3 separate regions of the Homo sapiens genome follow, and regions 2 and 3 are each linked to region 1. Evidence: promoter capture Hi-C in human tissues and cell types (Jung and others, 2019). All regions are on one chromosome and are shown on one strand. Each heading gives the region's core, a stretch centred on a gene start or on the middle of the fragment in contact. The rest is flanking DNA. Distances are from core to core; before and after follow the strand shown.

Evidence for each region. Contacts are between HindIII fragments. The study calls those that stand out against the background at their distance.
Region 2: a fragment that was not itself captured here is called in contact with the fragment with the promoter of RILPL2 in region 1 in 1 of the 25 tissues and cell types used here (dorsolateral prefrontal cortex).
Region 3: a contact is called between a fragment that was not itself captured here and the fragment with the promoter of RILPL2 in region 1, in 3 of the 25 tissues and cell types used here (IMR-90 fibroblasts, aorta and dorsolateral prefrontal cortex).

What each region holds. Positions count from the first base shown.
Region 1 is chr12:123,434,891-123,438,887 of GRCh38, forward strand. RILPL2 (Rab interacting lysosomal protein like 2) reads right to left here and starts at 1,794. Exons shown (of 4, transcript NM_145058.3): 1 at 1,192-1,794. The coding sequence starts at 1,530. RefSeq lists an enhancer at 770-1,699 and a silencer at 1,541-1,800. The HindIII fragment of the contact is 18,752 bases long and covers 1-3,997 here.
Region 2 is chr12:123,236,017-123,240,013 of GRCh38, forward strand. All of the region lies in intron 1 of MTRFR (mitochondrial translation release factor in rescue), which reads left to right. It also overlaps a transcript of MPHOSPH9 not described here. Among named protein-coding and RNA genes, the nearest start is that of MTRFR, 4.6 kb to the left of the region's middle. RefSeq lists enhancers at 1,499-1,548, 2,159-2,358. The HindIII fragment of the contact is 6,290 bases long and covers 1-3,997 here.
Region 3 is chr12:123,620,620-123,624,616 of GRCh38, forward strand. It overlaps EIF2B1 (eukaryotic translation initiation factor 2B subunit alpha), which reads right to left. Exons shown (of 9, transcript NM_001414.4): 8 at 2,017-2,142; 9 at 1-1,301. The coding sequence ends at 1,137. It overlaps DDX55 (DEAD-box helicase 55), which reads left to right. Exons shown (of 14, transcript NM_020936.3): 14 at 1-324. Among named protein-coding and RNA genes, the nearest start is that of SNORA9B, 5.9 kb to the left of the region's middle. RefSeq lists an enhancer at 758-1,957. The HindIII fragment of the contact is 7,939 bases long and covers 1-3,997 here.

The sequences.
Region 1 (3,997 bases), core at 544-3,043:
AGGGCTGGGTGCTGTGGCTCAGGCCTGTAATCCCAGCACTTTGGAAGGCTGAGGTGGGTGGGTCACTTGAGGCCAGGAGTTTGAGACCAGCCTGGCCAACATGGTGAAACCCCGTCTCTACCAAAAAAGAAAAAAAAAAAATAGCCACGCGTGGTGGCACACGCTTGCAATCCCAGCTGCTCAGGAGGCTGAGGCAGGAGAATCGCTTGAATCCAGGAGGTGGAGGTTGCAGTGAGTCGAGGTCACGCCACTGCACTACAGTCTGAGCAACAGAGCAAGATTCTGACTCAAAAAAAAAAAAAATCTACAGTAGTTTCTCTTTAGTGCCTGGCTTCTTTCTCTCAATGTTACATCTGTGAGATTCATTCACACTGCTGTGTGTATCAGCACCCCGTTCTTTTTCTCTGTTGCATAGTATTCCATATATCACAATTTCAAAACTCAATTGGGTTGCATTTAGAGTGTTTCCAGTTTGGCAGCTGAGACTAAAGCTGCTCTGAATCTTCTTGTCTATGTCTTTTTGTGGTCATATGCACTAATTTCTCTTTAGGTAAAATGTGTTTCTTGTCCAAGTGTGGTGGCTCACATCCACAAGCCCAGCACTTTGGGAGGCCAAGGTGGGAGGATTCCTTGAGCTTAGGAGTTTGAGACCAGCCTGGGTAACGGTGAGACCCCCATCTCTACAAAACATCAAAAAAGTTAGCCAGGCATGGTGGCACATGCCTGTACTCCCAGCTACTTGGAAGGGCAAGGCAGGAGAATTGCTTGAGCCTAGGAGGCCAAGGCTGTAGTGAGCCGTGTTTGCACCACTGCACTCTAGCCTGGGAGATAGAGCAGGACCCTGTGTCAAAAGAAAAAAAAAGTGTTTCTTGCTCTAGGTCAAAGGTTCTCAAACTGTGGACCCTGGGCCAATAGCATCAGCATTAACTGCGAACTCGTTAGAAATACAGATTCTGGCCAGGCAGGGTGGCTCACACCTGTAAACCCAGCACTCTAGGAGGCTGAGGCTGGGGGATCACTTGGAGCCAGGAGTTTGAGACCAGCCTGGGCAACACAGCGAGATCCCATCTCTTAAAAAAAGAAAAAAGAGAAAAGAGAAGAGAAAAGAAAAGGAAGGCGTCTCCCTGCCAGTAGGTGCCCTCCTACGCCCCGCAGGCGCCGTGGGCCCGGAACCCTCGCTCCCACACTCACCTCCCCGCTGGCCGGAGGGCTCTGTCTCCGCAGCCCCTCCACCTCCTTCCTGAGGTGGTCCCTCTCCATCTTCAGCTCCTCCAGCGCCAGGCTGCCCTCATTCACCAGCGCCTCCAGCATCTCCAGGACGCGGACGACTTTGAACTGCAGCTGCGTCACCCGGGGGTCGCTGCCCAGGGCCATAAGCTCGCGGCCCAACAGGTAGGAGATGTCATACACGTCCTCGGCGGTCAGCTGGAAGGGGCTCTTGCCCAGCGCCCCCTCGGGCCCAACCTCGTCCCTCTCCTCGTCCTCCTCTCCCTCCTCCTCTTCCTCTTCTCGCACAGGGGGCTCCTCCATGGCCACCCAGACCCCCGCCGACCTCGGAGCTGCTGTCTTGGAGTCTCCCAAAGGTTAGACTTCCTCCCGGCACCCAAAACTTTCCGCTGGGCAGAGTCCCTACCTGCCCAATCAGCGCGGCCCGGGGGTGGGCCCGGGGGGATGGTGCAAGGGGCCGCGCACGCGACTCTTGGGCCTGCGCCCCGGCGCACCGTCCCCGCTGCCAGCCACGCTGGAGAGTGCGCTCCAGGATGTGGTTTGGGGCGCGAAGGGACAACGGAAAAGGAGGCAGCCGAGAAGAGGAACGGGGAAGTTCAGGGGTGACGGCAATCGCCCCAGCCTGGGAACAGTTGCAGCCCCGGGGAGGAGCCGCCCTGAGCCCCGCCCCTGGCGACCGCTGCCAGGAGGTGCGTTTCCGTGGAGACGGAGTTTCCACCGTGCAATCCAGAGCGGGGTAAAAAGAACGCAACTTTTTCCTTTCCACCCTCGTGCTTTCCAGCCGTAGAATTTGCATCGTAGGTGATGGAAGATCCGGGTGTCTCTTTGAGGGTGTTTTCTGGAGCCTGCGGCCAAACAGAAAGCAGCTGCTGGGGGCAGCGCGACAGAGTCCCCGAGGCTTGAGGATCTGGAAAACTCCCAGGCAAATTGTCACTAGGGCCTGGGGCGTCCGACTTCGCTGTGACTCTCAATAAAATGGAGAATGTCTGCCCTGCTCACTTCGCTGGGTCCTCGGCTCCTCCACGTAACCAGCGCTGTCACCTTGGCAAGTTACTTAACGTCTCCGAGCCTCAGTCTCCTCCTCTGTAAAATGGGGACAATAGCGGGACCCAGGTGGCAGGGTTGCTGCGAGGAACATGAGCTTATGAGATCATGTGTGCGACACCTCAAGCACTTAGGAAGCACTCACATACGTGACTGCAATCCTTCATTCTTTCTTTCTTTCTTTCTTTCTTTTTTTTTTTGAGACGGAGTCTCCCTGTGTCGCCCAGGCTGGAGTGCAGTGGCGCGATCTCGGCTTGCTGCAAGCTCCGCCTCCCAGGTTCACGCCATTCTCCTGCCTCAGCCTCCCGAGTAGCTGGGACTACAGGCACGCGCCACCACGCCCGGCTAATTTTTTTGTATTTTTAGTAGAGACGGGGTTTCACCATGTTCGCCAGGATGGTCTCGATCTCCTGACCTCGTGATCCACCTGCCTCGGCCTCCCAAAGTGCTGGGATTACAGGCGTGAGCCACCGCGCCCGGCCCCTTCATTCTTTCTTCCACAGCGCTAGGGAGGAATTGCTGGTGTTGGAGACACCTTGCTACTTGGGTGAGAGAAGGAGGAGTAATTAACAAGAGAGAAACCCCTGTCTGAAAATCACAAAGCATTCGACACATATGCGGAATCCATATTACTGAGAATATTAGCAGAGTGGCGTAGAAACTTGAGTCATTCGCTGTGGCTCATGCCTTAATCTCAACACTTCAGGAGGCTGACGCAGGAGGATTGCTTGAGCCCAGGAATTTGAGACTAGCTTGGGCATCATAGTGAGACCCTGTCTCTACAAAAAGTAAACAAAAGTAGCTGGACACAGTGGTTCATGCCTGTAGTGGCAGGTACTCGGGAGGCTGAGGTGGGAGGACCACTTGAGCCCGGGATGTTGAGGCTGCAGTGAGCCAAGATCTCACCACAGAGTGGTGCCTGTGACAGAGTGGGACCATGGTGACAGAGTAAGATCATGTCTCAAAAAAAAAGGCACAACAAATCTCAAGTTATTTTAGGTTTCACTGGAGGTTTGTGATAGTCTCAGGCAGAAAGCTCAGCAACGGGGCTTGTCTTTCCCAGGAATGTATTGGCAGCTTTCCTTGTGATAGGTGTATCCATTTTCTCCACACTGAGGTACTAGAATCTCAATGGAGAATGTACATAGATTAAACCAACCAACAAAAGCAAAGCAAATTAACAAAACACACTATTTTCAGAGGGTCGTTTCTTTTTATTTTATTTTATTTTATTTTATTTATTTGTTTATTTATTTATTTAGAGACAGAATCTTGCTCTGTTGCCCAGGCTGGAGCTCAGTGGCATGATCTCGGCTCACCGCAACCTCCGCCTCCCTGGTTAAAGCAATTCTTCTACCTCAGCCTCCCCAGTAGCTGGGACCACAGGCGCATGCCGCCCCGCCTGGCTAATTTTTTGTATTTTAGTAGAGATGGGGTTTCACTGTGCTGCCCAGGCTGGTCGCGAACTCCTGAGCTCGGGCAATCCTCCCACCTGGGCCTCCCAAAGTGCTAGGATTACGGGCGTAAGCCACCCTGCCTGGCCTATTTTACTTTTATAAAATAAAAAAGTCAGGCCGAGATGGGCGGATCACGAGGTCAGGAGACCGAGACCATCCTGGCTAACACGGTGAAACCCTGTCTCTACTAAAAATACAAAAAAAATTAGCCGGGTGTAGTGGCGGGCGCCTGTAGTCCCAGCTACTCGGGAGGCTGAGGCAGGAGAATG
Region 2 (3,997 bases), core at 813-3,312, 200 kb before region 1:
TGGTGCCACTGCACTCCAGCCTGGGCAACAGAGTGAGACTCGTCTCAAAAAAATAAATAAATAAAAACTTAAAACAGAAAAAGTTAAGGAAAAGGAGCTAACATTGCCTAAGAAACTGGAAAAAGATCTGGAGATATGAAAGGTAATGAAACAAGGTGTAGAAAGGATAATTTAGTTTCAAAAATTGAAAACCTAATGGTTTCCAAGATAGGTCTTACTGAGATAATCAGGAAGTGTGCATCTCTTATTTTCTTTATTTGTATTAAATACAATAATGTATTTGAAAGTGCTTTGCAGCTGCACGTGGTGGCTCACGCCTGTAATCCCATCACTTTGGGAGGCTGAGGCAGGAGGATTGCTTGAGCCCATGAGTTCGAGACCTGCCTGGGCAACATGGCAAGACCCCATCTCTACAAAAAATTAAAAACTAGCCAGGTATGGTGGTACACACCTGTGGCCCCAGCTACTGGGGAGGCTGAGGCAAAGAAGCTTGCTTGAGCCCAGGAGGTCAAGGCTGCACTGAGCCATTTTTATGCCACTGCACTCCACTTGGGTGACAGAGGGAGACCCTGTCTCAAAAAAAAAAAAAAGAAGAAGAAACTGCTTTGGTTTGTATATGTTTAAGTCCTAAACAAACACAAGGCATCGTTAATAGAAATATAGGCTTTGAGACTTTTGGAAGAAAATATACAGTGTTGTTATTCCTGCTTTTTTAATGTGTTTCTGTTTTAATAGTGTAGTTGATAAATTATAAAGTTCCCGTTAGATGCCATAAATAGAACAAATATGGGGCCGGGCGCGGTGGCTCACACCTCTCAGCACTTTGAGAGGCCGAGGCGGGCGGATCGCCTGAGGTCAGGAGTTCAACACCAGCCTGAGAAACACGGTGAATCCCCATCTCTACTAAAAATACAAAAAATTAGCCAAGCGTGGCGGCATGCGCCTGTAGTCCCAGCTACTTGGGAGGCTGAGGCAGGAGAATTGCTTGAATCTGGAAGGCGGAGGTTGCAGTGAGCTGAGATTGCGCCACTGCAGTCCAGGCTGGGTGACAGAGTGAGACTCCGGCTAAAAAAAAAAATAGAAGAAATATGATACACACAAATAGCACAGGTGTAATTCTGTGGATTCAAAGTTTTCTGCTTAAAAAAAAATAAACGGGGCCAGGCACTGTGGCTCACGCCTGTAATCCCAGGACTACGGGAGGCCAAGGCAGGCGCATCACCTGATGTCAGGAGAAACCCCCGCCTCTACTAAAAATACAAAATTAGCCGGGCATGATGGCAGGTGCCTGTAGTCCCAGATACTCAGGAGGCTGAGACAGGAGAATCACTTGAACCTGGGAGGCAGAGGTTGCAGTGAGCCAAGATCACGCCATTGCACTCTAGCCTGGGTGACAAGCGAAACTCCGGCTCAAAAATAAAATAAAAATGAACGAGATGTTGGGATTGTGTGAAGTGAATGTTTTCCTCTTTACTTCATTAGCTATCTCTTGAATTCTGCAGCATTAAGCATTCAAGCATTAAGCCTGTTAAATTTAGACCAGACCTAGAGTAGTCTCTTTTTCCTCCCGTCCGCCAAAATCAAAGACTACAGCTCTGCATTTCCTGCTCAATCTATTATGCTTTCCTTGTTTGAGAAATAACTATCTGCAAACACTTACTGTGAGTGAAGGGTGCTTTATCTTCAGCGTAAAACCCCAAGTCTAGGAAATGGCATGGTCTGTTTCAAGCCTTACCAGCAATACTCACTGGTTCCATTTGAGAGGTTTCAGCCCTTAAGGATTTCAGATACCTACAGCAGGAGGATGAGCTAACAGGAGGATGTGAAAGACAGGGAAATGCTACTTTCTTTTTAACTACCATTTTACAGACAGCACCAAAACACTTTTTTTTTTTTTGAGACGGAGTCTCACTCTGTCACCCAGGGTGGAGTGCAGTGGTGTGACCTCAGCCCACTGCAACCTCTGCCTGCCAGGTTGAATCCATTATTCTGCTGCAGCCTCCCGAGTAGCCGGGACTACAGGTGCACACCACCACATCTGGCTAATTTTTTGTATTTTAGTACAGAGGGGGTTTCACCATGTTGCCCAGGCTGGTCTGGAACTCCTGAGCTCAGGCAATCCACCCTCAGCCTCCCAAAGTGCTAGGATTACAGTCATGAGCCACCACACCCAGCCCCAAAACACATTTTTGAAACATGAATTATTATTATTAAGCATTTGTCAGAAAATCATTTTCCCCTCACTTAGCTTCTGGCACCACCTGCTGGCCGTTTTGTCTTTTCAAAGCAGCAACATTGCACGTTGGTCTGTTTAAGCTCAATGTTGTTTGGCCCTTAACTGTTTATTAGGTCATTGTTTTGAGACCTATGGTTTCATCTCCTTCTTAAGGAAGAGACAAGACGGAATAAGCAGGTAATCAGCCCTCCTGAATTCTTGTCTCAGTTTCTTAAATGTCATATAAATAAGAAACATGCTGGGCATGGTGGCTCATGACTGTAATCCCAGCACTTTTTGAGACCGAGGCAGGCAGATTGCTTGAGCTCAGGAGTTTGAGACCAGACTGGGCAACATGATGAAACCCCATCTCTACTTTTTTAGAAAAGAAAAAGAAAAGCTTTTAAAAGTGTCTGTCCTAGCAATCAGAAGAACTTGCTGATTCCTGTGTTCTGGAACAATGCTTGTCAAATTTTATGTGCCTCTGCATCACCTGAGGATCTTGTTAGGCTGCAGGTTCTCATTTGGTAGGTCAGAGCAGGGCCTGAAATCTTCATTCCTAACCATCCTCCACGTGGTGCTTTTGCCACTATGTGGACCACACTTTGGGTAGCAAGATTCTAGAGCTACATTGTCCCATAAAGTAGCCACCAGCACATGTGGCCCAAACTGAGATGTTCTGTAAGTATGACCATAACCTAGAATTTGAAGCCTTCATATTTAGGGGGAAAAAAGAATATCTCAATTTTAAAATATTGGCTGGGTGCAGTGGCTCACACCTGTAATCCCAGCACTTTGGAAGGCTGAGGAAGGCAGATCGCTTGAGTTTGAGTTCCAGACCAGCCACAGCAACATGGTGAAACCCCGTCTCTACAAAAAATCCAAAAATTAGCCAGGCATGCTGGTACATGCCTGTAGTTCCAACTACTCAGGAGGCTGCGGTGAGAGGATGGCTAGAGCCTGGAAGGCAGAGATTGCAGTGAGCTGAGATGGCGCCACTATACTCCAGCCTGGGTGATGGAGCCAGACTGGTCTCAAAATAATAAAACGTTGATCACGTGTGGAAATAATAGTTTTGATATATTGGGTTAAATATACATTTCATCATTTATTATTTCTAATGTAACTACTAGAAAATTTAGAATTTCACATGTGGGTAGCATTAGTTTTGTTTTTTTGTTTGTTTTTTTGAGACAGAGTTTCACTCTGTTGCCAGGCTAGAGTGCAATGGCGCAATCTCGGCTCACCGCAATCTCCACCTCCCAGGTTCAAGCGATTCTCCTGCCTCAGCCTCCCAAGTAGCTGGGACTACAGCTACGTGCAACCATGCCCAGCTAATTTTTTGTATTTTTAGTAGAGACGGGGTTTCACCGTGTTAGCCAGGATGGTCTCGATCTCCTGACCTCATGATCTGCCCGCCTTGGCCTCCCAAAGTGCTGGGATTACAGGCGTGAGCTACCGCGCCCAGCCCAGTAGCGTTAGTTTCTATTGGACACCACTGTTCTAGAACATTAACACAACAGAGGTGACATTTTTTATTTTTTTTTCCCCCAGATGACCCAGTTTCCCAATCTCCTTGTTTCCATGTCACCATCTCTGCTAGCTCAAATCAGTATTTGTTTAATTCTTTTCTTGGGACGATTTCCTTGCCCTCCCATCACACTCCTTTACACCTTCTCAGCCTTCACCATTGCCATCATGATCCCAGGGATCTCATCAAGCAATGAACAGTCCTATGTGCCAGAATACTAGCAGCATCCTTGTTTAAAGCACTTAGCCTTG
Region 3 (3,997 bases), core at 885-3,384, 190 kb after region 1:
ATATATATAAGCTCTTTTTTCTGAGGCTATTTTATAGTTATTTTTAAACATAAAGATACAGAAGTCTTCTTGACTTCTGATTTTCAAAACCATTCCTCAGTATCTTCAGGCATTTGACCTCCTGAATGTGCTTGGCCCTGGGCTTCAGTTATCCTTTGATGTCCTGCAGGGGTGGCTAATGTGCTGGGGTTTTTCTGTGTTAATAGTCACAGTATTGTTTTATTGGTGAATAGCTGAAAAACAGAGGGATTAAGTCATATTCCGGGAAAGAGAATTATAGTTTTTATGCCTCCTGTTGAATAAATGGTGTCCTGATTGCCTGGGTCTTAAGTGTGTAAATGTAGCTGGACAGTGTTTTCCCCTAGATGGCCTGGTCAGCTTGCAGTATTGATGCAACACCACATCAGCGTCTTTCATAGAGTTTATTTGAAAAGATGCTGAATTTATTCCCAAGTATAATTTTAAAAAGCTGTTTAGGACCCAAACATATTTAAACATCTCTTACACATACAGAATTTCAGTTTACAAATATTCCAGAAGGCATTTTCTTAAGCAGTGAACCATGCAGAATACTGTTGCTAAACATCGTTTCTGCCTTCCTCGTGTTCTCTTGGTAGTTTTTACTGTTTGGCTTGATCCTGCTGAGGAATGTGCTTACCACTGGAAGCCAGATGCAGATTCAGCAAGTGTTTCTTGCCTCTTACAAGGCACCGCGTGTAACGTCCTGACCAGCTGTTGGTCATTTGTGGCAGAGGGGTGTGGCTGCTTTTCGCCTGCATCTCGCGTGCTTTAGGCAGATCAGTCTGGAGTGCAGGGGAGGATGAAGACAGGTGGACTTGGGCTCATCTTTCATCAGTTAAGTAGCCAATTATCTAACTTGTATTTCTGGAAACTGAAAAGGAAAGTTTCTAGAAACCGTAAGAACAATTTAAGTTGGGATTTAGAATAGCTGACACATTTTTAGATGGGACTGAAATGAGTAAGAAAGGTTCTCCAAGATGTATGATTTTAAGTCCTTACTCCATAAATCTTCATTAAACACATCTCAGTTTTGGCCTGACTCACTGGGGTGTCAAGCAGCTACTCACCCTGCCTCAACTACGTAAGCTGCACCTTGGCAGGAAAGGGCTCACAGGTTACAGATAGAGCTTGATGAGCTCATCGCTGACTGCTGAGGGTGTCAGCACGCCCAGGTCTGTAAACAGCAGAGTGATTAAGGAAGGGGCAGTGTAGTCGACCCACGGATGCTCCTCTTTGAGGTCTTGTCCAGTCTGCGCGACCTTGAGAGTGTCTGCCTTATACTGAGGAGAGAAGTACACATTAGTCGGCACTGAATATTTAGTGCTCTGACCTGGTAGGGCCTTGGTGTGAGTGATCAGTGTGCTACTTCCTGAGACTGCTCTCTGAAAATGGGAGAAACTAAGCTATGCAGGACACTAGAGACGAGGGCAGAGTTGTGGCCATGAGCCAGATCATGGCAGTGTGCTGGCTGAGAGCTGTAGTGTAACAAACTTAAATCCCATGTCCCCTCATTCTCATGCCGGATTAACTTCTCCAGACCTCTCAAGGGAAGATCGAGAGTCACAATAGAGAGCTTGCAGCGTGCCAGGGACTGTGCTAAGATTATCTTAGAATCCTCATGACCCTGTCAGATACTGCTATGCCATTTTACAGACAAGAAAACCGGTTCAGAGGTTGAAATGAAAGGACTTGCCTCAACTCGCACAGTTTGTAAGTTGTGGTGATGGGAGCTGAGCTCAGTTAAGCCCAAAGCTGGGACTTACCCACCAGCTTCGGGCTTCCTCTCCACCCATCTATGGTGCTACTTAAAGAGACTGAAAGACTGAAGTTCTAGGGACAAATGTGTGAGTCCAATCACCAATTTATCTTTGTATTCCAAGTGTTGGGGAAAGTAGCAATAGGAAGTGAAAAAATTACTGGAACATTCTTAGGACTACAATTTCCAAAGGTTTCTGTTTAGACTTTAGTACCCCTTCAAATATGTAAAACTCTTGCCTTAAACTTATCTGGGACGTCTTGCTGGTTTAGTGGAAAGAGCCGGACAAACTTGAAACTTTCTGCAACCACATAGAAAGGTTTGTTCTGTGCTTTGGCACACACAGCCATCTGGTTGGTTCCAATCTGGGAAGGCAGAAAATGGAATGGATGAGCTCTAGAGTGCATCTGAAGTAGAAGCCACAGAAAAGCGGGCCGGGCACAGTGGTGCATGCCTGTATTCCAGCATTTTGGGAGGCCGAGGTGGGTGGATCACCTGAACCCATGAGTTTGGGACCAGCCTAGGCAACACGGTGAGACCTCGTCTCAATTACAATAAAGGAACAATTAAAAAACAGCAATAGAAAGTTATGTATATAATATAGATATACATATATCTAATACATATATTAGATATATCTAATTCTGACTTTGGAATCAAAAAAATAAATGTTTCTCAAAGGATATAGAAACAGCCACTAGAGGCTGGATGTGGTGGCTCACGCCTGTAATCCCAGCACTTTGGGAGGCCGAGGTGGGTGGATCACCTGAGGTCAGGAGTTTGAGACCAGCTGGCCAATATAGGGAAACCCCATCTCTACTAAAAATACAAAAAATTAGCTGGGCATGGTGGGATGGGGGGTGCCTGTAATCCCAGCTACTAGGGAGGCTGAAGCAGGAGACTCGCTTGAACCCGGGCACTGGAGGTTGCAGTGAGCCAAGACTGTGCCATTGCACTCCAGCCTGGACAGCAAGAGTGAAACTCCATCTCAAAAAATAAAAAAATTTAAAAAAACAAGTGTTGGCAAGGATGTAGAGAAATTGGAACCTTTGTGCTTTGCTAGTGGGAATGTAAAGTAGTGCAGCTGCTGTGGAAAATCATTAGTTTCTGAAAGTTAAATATATAGTTACCATGTGACTCAACACTCTGCCTGCAGACCTCCGCCTCCCAGGTTCAAGCGATTCTCCTGCGTCAGCCTGCCAAGTAGCTGGGATTACAGGCACCCGCCACCATGCCCAGCTAATTTTTTGTATTTTTAGTAGATATGGGGTTTCACCATGTTGGCCAGGCTGGTCTCGAACTCCTGACCTCAGATGATCTACCTGCCTCAGCCTCCCAAAGTGCTGGGATTATAGGCGTGAGCTACTACGCCCGGCCTTATGTTACATATATTTTAACTAAAAAAAGCTTTCATGAAGCTTTTCTAAATTAAATAATGGAGAGAGAGATTGTAATAAATTGAGGTCAAATGTGCTCAATTAAAATGAAAACAAATGACAGGCCGGCCACAGTGGCTCATGCCTGTAATCCTAGCACTTTGGGAAGTGGAAAGATTGCTTCAGGCTAGGAGTTCAAGACTGCAGTAAGCTATGATCACTGTACTACACTACAGCCTGGGCAACAGAGTGAATGTGTCTCTATTTTAAAATATATATAATATTTATATATAAATACACGTATTTTATACATACATACTTTATATGTAAATATATAAATAATATTTTAAAAATATTTGTGTATATATATTATGTGTGTGTATATATATGCATAAATAAAACATACATATACACATAAATAAAGCAAAAACCAGACAAACCCCAATTCCAATTCAAGCCAATTTTGTATAAATATAAATTACACTTTTTTTTTTTTTTTTTTTACTGAGACAGGGTCTCACCATCGCCCAGGCTGGAATGCAGTAGTGTGATCATAACTTACTGCAACCTCAAATTCCTGGGCTCACGTGATACTCCTGCCTCAGCTTCCTGGGCAGCTGGAACTACAGGCAAGCACCACCACGCCCAGCTAATTTTTCTAATTTTTTGTAGAGACAGGGTTTCACTATGTTGCCCAGGCTGGTCTTGAACTCAAGGCCTCAAGTGATCCTCCCACCCTGGCCTCTCAAATTGCTAGGATTACAGGTATAAGGCATCACACCTGACCAAATTACATTGTCTTCATTTATGTAGATCAATCTAAAAAAGATTTGACTGAAACTGG